Regions from separate parts of the Homo sapiens genome. Here region 1 is linked to region 2. Evidence: promoter capture Hi-C in 16 types of primary human blood cells and fetal thymus (Javierre and others, 2016). All regions are on one chromosome and are shown on one strand. The core of a region is centred on a gene start or on the middle of the fragment in contact, and the rest is flanking DNA. Distances in the headings are between cores, read along the strand shown. Region 1 overlaps JAKMIP2 (janus kinase and microtubule interacting protein 2). Region 2 holds the start of SPINK1 (serine peptidase inhibitor Kazal type 1).

Region 1 (3,001 bases), core at 162-2,661, 240 kb after region 2:
TGAATACTTTATGACAAATTGCATATAAAGGGTGAGGAGTGGAAGGTGTCAGAGATGGCCCTTGTGTTCCTAGATGGTGTAACTGGTTAAACGGTGGTGCCCTTACAGATGCTACAACCACAAGTCAGAAGCCACATCACCGTACTCAAGACTTGGAGTTTGTGGCATTAGCTGGGCACAGTGGCTCTGTAATCACAGCATTTTGAGAGGCTGAGGCAGGTGGATCACTTGAGCCCAGGAGTTTAAGACCAGCCTGGGAAACATGGTGAAATCCCATCTCTACAAAAGTACAAAAACTAGCTGGGTATGGGGGCACATACCTGTAGTACCAGCTACTTGGGAGGCTGAAGTGCAAGGATGGCTTAAGCCCCAGAGGTCGATGCTGCAGTGAGACAAGATTGCACCACTGTACTCCATCCTGAGCAACAAAGCAAGACCCTGTATCAAAAAGAAAAAAAAAGAATTTGTAGCATGCAGTAAAGTCTCAAAAATGATAGTGGCAATTGCTGTTTTCCACAGATGAGGAAACTAAATTGTAGCACTGTTATGCAACCTGTTAAAAAGAACTCCTGTTACCCACTGGGTAACTGCAATAACTCAGAATGCTAATTTGAATAAATCTGGCTTCACTATAGAAATAATAGTTCCTTTTACAAGTACTTCTCAATTCATAGAAACTTAACATTCCAGGAGACTGCCTGGACTGCCTGTAAGTCCATTGGTTTTTAAAACCAACATGTGTTTACTCAAATGAGGGGTTTTACCTCGGTTGTGATAGGTGGAAATGATGCATACATGCTTTGACACAATATATAGGATTTAATCTTTGATATGCTATACATTGAAAGTTTGCAAGTAAAAGACTTTTTGTGTTTGTATATTTATTCTATATTTAAAAACACACAAACAAAAATACATCCCTGAAGAATTTTTTATATACATTCAGATCAACTCTCTTATTTACCATGGAATAGGAGAATGTTGTGTTTGTAACTAGTTATTTGGGGCTCTCATCCCAGTGGAATGTAAATATGTACTCAATCTATTTTCTCAAATCATAGCTTTCTTCACTCAGGCTCTGTCTTATTTCCCTCTCTCATCTTTTAATTAAATATTAGGTTGGTCCCCCAACTTCTCAGTCACTTTCAATCCTCAAAAGTCTTAAGCCAGTTTAAAAGTTCAATTTCAGACTCTGTTTTATTCTCATTTCTTCCCTTATCCTCCCTTAGGCATGAGCCAAGTACCCCCATGGAGCTGTAGTTCAGGGTCTGACTCTACGAGAACTCTTCCTCTTCTCTTCCTCTTCAAGGCTCAGCCGTTCTGGAGAGCAGGGAGGAAGAAGAGGGAAAAGGATTCTCCCTCTCAGCTCCTTTGACAGTGATTGCAGATGTTTCTTTGGCTACTGTTGACCAACACTTGATATCTTTTCTATGAGAGGTGACCAAAGGCTGGCCATTCTGGGCAACATATGTGTGAATTCTTCAGAAGGGTGTGCAGGGGATGCCCACTGCCCTATTCCCAGTCTGGCCAAGGCCCAGACTCTTCCACTGCCTCACTGGCTCCCTTCGTTGGTGGTGCAACCCACAGCTTTTTGCTAAGGAGGTAGCTTTTTGATGGAGTGTGGAGCAAGGAGACAACTACGCTGTAGCGCCTGTCTCTGCCCTGTCATCACTCTTCAGTTCTCTGCTCACATATAAGCAAGGGAAGATGAGAAAGTCTATGTCTGAGCAATAGGAGGCAAGTATGCCTCTGTGAATCCACCATCAATATCTTTACGCCTCTTCGTACCTCCTCCTCATTCCCTCAGTGTGATCTCTCCCCGACCACTGTACTTCCTTCCCACAGGTTCTCCTCTGTGACTCTGTCACTCTTCCATCCCAGTCTAACCTTGTCTTGGGAGCAAAATGGCTCTGCAAATATGCCTTTGGATCTTTAAGTTGCCCCTGGTTGGTAGACTAGAAGTATCCTTGGGGTACTAAGTGCCTCCTTTTCCTCCACTTTAGATTGTGGTTTTAACATTTAACTTTGGATTTAACATTTCTGGAATAATAGTAAAGTCTTTCTACAGAATCAGTATCCTTATTTTATAGATGAGGAGATTGAGGCTTAGAGAAGTTAAATAAATTAGCTTTGGGCATACAGCAAGAAAATAGAAATCCCATTTTCTCTATCCATGTTGTTCAGACCCTAAAGGCCATTCCCTTAAGTAGGACATGATAGCACAACCTCATAGCACATCTTCTGTGCTATTTCTGGCTTTCATTGGAAGACAGCATTACGACCTAGACTTCTACACAAGTGAAAACTCAGACATATGGACTTACAGAGGAACAGGGCTAGGAGTCCTGACTGGCACATCCCCAGGGTAGCACCTTTTCAGGGACATCTCTGGGCCAACCAAGAAACCTGTGTGGCAGAATTCCCAGGGAGTTCTTCAATCAGGACTTTAGGTGGAGACAATTTGCCAATGGTTACAATTTTGTTGGGGAGGAAATGTGACATAGAATTAAGTCACTGAAGGGAATAGACAGGTCTGCTATTAAAATAACATCTTGCAGAAACAGTAGATACTGGAGACTTCAAAAGTGGGGAGGTAGAGAAGTGGCAGTGTTTGAAAAACTACCTATTGGGTACTATTTTCACTTTTGTGTGATGGGTTCAATAGAAGCCCAGACTTCTGCATCATGAAATATATCCATGTAACCAACCTGCACATTTACCTTCTGAATCTAAAATAAGTTTCAAAAATAAAATAACATCTTAAATGGATATGTTGGGGCATGATTATTCAATTTAACTTCTTAGCTATCACCTTGGAAGGCCTCAGAGGAAAAAGCAGTAATGATAATAATATTTCAGGCAACTTACTTTGAGACAAGAACCATTAATTGTTTTATATGCATTGTGTTGCAACAACCTTTGACATAGAGACTTCTATTTTCTCCCTTAAAATTAAAGTAACTAAGCTTAGAGATGTAACTTGCATAAGATCATACACATC
Region 2 (2,788 bases), core at 166-2,665:
GTGATATCACCTGAAAAGCAAGACCTTCTCTGATTACGCTATGATACATATCTCCTTAACCCTCCAGCACCCTTATCCTTCTTGTCCTTTTCTCCATAATATTTATCTGATATATTTTATAATCACTTATTATTTTTTGTCACTTGCCTCCCTCAACAAAAAGGCAATGGAAGCTCCATGAAGACAGAGATTGTTATTTTTATTTACTGATCTGTCTTAAGAGATAAATACAGTTCTTGTCATGACTTGGGAAGGGTTTGAGATTTTATCCTACTTGGAAGCTAAGAAGTTAGCCTGCCACATTATAATGGTTTCTGGCAGAAGGCACAGACTCCTGGCTCAGAGAAAAGGGACTTAATTATTCCATAGCAACAGCCAGAGTATTGGAATTTGTTCTGGTTTCCCAAGCCCCAATTTCCACAGGCCAATTTAAGGGGCATCAAGTGATAGTTGCAGGGAAAGTACAGTGTGTTAAAGGAAAGAAAGGCCAAGCTTTTAAAAACCCGAAATCTTTTGTAAAGGGCAATTAACATGGTCTTTGCCCTAGAAGGAGATATTAACTTTATTACACTAAACAGTAAACAAACCTGCCTTTTGGTGCAGAGGGAGACATTACGTATTTTCTAAGGTCGTTTGTTATATAAACACCCTTAAAAAGATAGTCTGAAACAAAGGTTATCAGTACCTCTACTCATAAGACACACCAAAACATGAGAGAGGATGGAGAATTCTCTTCTAATAACACATGGTAGATATCCAGCACATATTCTCTTTTACCCAGCACATATTCTCAGATGAAAGAGTAACCCTTTGAATTAGGTGTTATTATTATTTTAATTTCCAGATGAATACACAGAAGCACAGCAAAAGTGGCTCCAACAAGCACCCTCTAGCTCCAGAATACACGCTTTAGGGAACTGAGTCCTCTCTCTCTCTTGCTTTCTCTTTCCCTCTCATCTGCCACTCCATCAGCTACTTTAGGTTTTGTGAATGAGTGAGGGAAAAATAGAGAAAAGAGAAAGAAGAATAAGAAAGGAAGAGTGGAGGAAAGGAAAAAAGAATGGAGAGGTTTTACCCTACTTGGAATAAAATTCTTTCTAGTAGCTATCCATACCTGCTCATCTATCCAGAACTACAGAGTAGAAGGGATCTTTGAGTTCATCTTACAGGTGAGAAAACAGGCTTGAGAAGGGAATGACTTTCCCACAACCACAGAGGGAGTTAGGGATCAAACTAACCACTAGAACTATTTTCCTGACAGAATCTTTGCCTTGCATGTTTCAGGCCCACCTGGCTCCTTTCACCTTTCTTACACAGGTGACATTCCCAGAACCTGGAGGCCAGGCTATGACACAGAGTCAATCAATAACCAGGGAGATCTGTGATATAGCCCAGTAGGTGGGGCCTTGCTGCCATCTGCCATATGACCCTTCCAGTCCCAGGCTTCTGAAGAGACGTGGTAAGTGCGGTGCAGTTTTCAACTGACCTCTGGACGCAGAACTTCAGCCATGAAGGTAACAGGCATCTTTCTTCTCAGTGCCTTGGCCCTGTTGAGTCTATCTGGTAAGTGTTGCATATTTTTCAAATTTAAATAAAACTGTTTTGACCTGTTGCTTTGTGAAGCACATTATCTTCTAGACTTTTGATGTAGTCTAGTCTTCGAGAGATGTTTTGGACCTAATGAGATGAAATAAAATCAACAGGTAAGAATTATTTTTTAAGAGGAATTTTTAACCTACTATAAGGAAAACAATTCTACTAGTAAGAAATTCCCAGAAATAAAATGGTTTTCCTCTATTGATGTGGCTGACCCTTTGTTGGGATATGGTAGAGAAAAAAGGGTAAAAATATTTTAACTTTAAGTATACTTCTCATTCTGTAAATGTGTAAGGCCAAATTACAAATTTTAAATTCTCATGGGATTGCATAAAATAGATAAATGGCTTCCAGTTATTCAGTATAAAAGGCATAATTTGACTGATTAAAAATTTATTTTTTTATTGTATAGGTTTCAGTGTACTTGAATCATGTATAGTTTGTCAGATTTATCCCTGAATAGCTAATATATGTGATATAAAGGGAATTTTTTATTTTCAATTCCTGGTATTTCTTATTAGTATCTGGAAATACAAAAATTGCATTTTGTGTATTTACATTACACATTTTGAATGTTTTGAAAGAAAATATTCTGCTTGAATAGATGGTGCACATATACCTCCAACTGCATCTTGACAATGTTGACAGACAACTCTGAACCCGCAGAGCCAAGATCAGTTTCCTTTTTATCACTGGAAATGGTTAACATTTTCAACTTCACCTCTCATGTAGTGAAGGATCCTGTGGAGAGCCAAATCAGCACTTTGCTAAGAAGAGGAAGAATATTGTTTGTTTTATTTGCTGAATATTTATGGCAACAGTCAGTGTTCCCTTTCCCCCTCCTCATGCATGTTAATTAATACAAATAGATGCCTGTGATGAGCACCTGCTCTTCAGTTTTTAGACTCAACTAGATTCTAAAAGCCAGTGGGCCCCCAACAACATCAAGTTCTGACTATCCCGGGGGAAATTCTCCAAGCTCATAGATGCCTCACTAATTTTCATTACATTTAGATACAAAGAACTACCTCTTTGCTCAGATCACCTCAAAGATTGATGATATTAAAATTAATTTTCAGGAATGTTTCCTTATTTGATTGCTATCATATTAGTTCCCTTTCCCTTCCATGAACTTATCCACAGTTATCATTTCCTATATGTTGTCAGCAAAACCTCTGCTATTTTCTGGGGG

The links. Contacts are between HindIII fragments. The CHiCAGO score rates a contact against its expected background, and 5 or more counts as called.
Region 1: a fragment that was not itself captured here is called in contact with the fragment with the promoter of SPINK1 in region 2 in 4 of 17 cell types (megakaryocytes, fetal thymus, monocytes and 1 more); the score reaches 5.9 in megakaryocytes.

What each region holds. Positions count from the first base shown.
Region 1 is chr5:147,591,797-147,594,797 of GRCh38, reverse strand. All of the region lies in intron 21 of JAKMIP2 (janus kinase and microtubule interacting protein 2), which reads left to right. It overlaps JAKMIP2-AS1 (JAKMIP2 antisense RNA 1), which reads right to left. Exons shown (of 4, transcript NR_038902.1): 2 at 321-438. Among named protein-coding and RNA genes, the nearest start is that of JAKMIP2-AS1, 33 kb to the right of the region's middle. The HindIII fragment of the contact is 3,114 bases long and covers 1-2,968 here.
Region 2 is chr5:147,830,298-147,833,085 of GRCh38, reverse strand. It overlaps SPINK1 (serine peptidase inhibitor Kazal type 1), which reads left to right and starts at 1,415. Exons shown (of 4, transcript NM_001379610.1): 1 at 1,415-1,563. The coding sequence starts at 1,509. It overlaps LOC124901101 (a long non-coding RNA gene), which reads right to left and starts at 2,581. Exons shown (of 2, transcript XR_007058987.1): 1 at 2,216-2,581; 2 at 1,475-1,677. The HindIII fragment of the contact is 4,964 bases long and covers 495-2,788 here.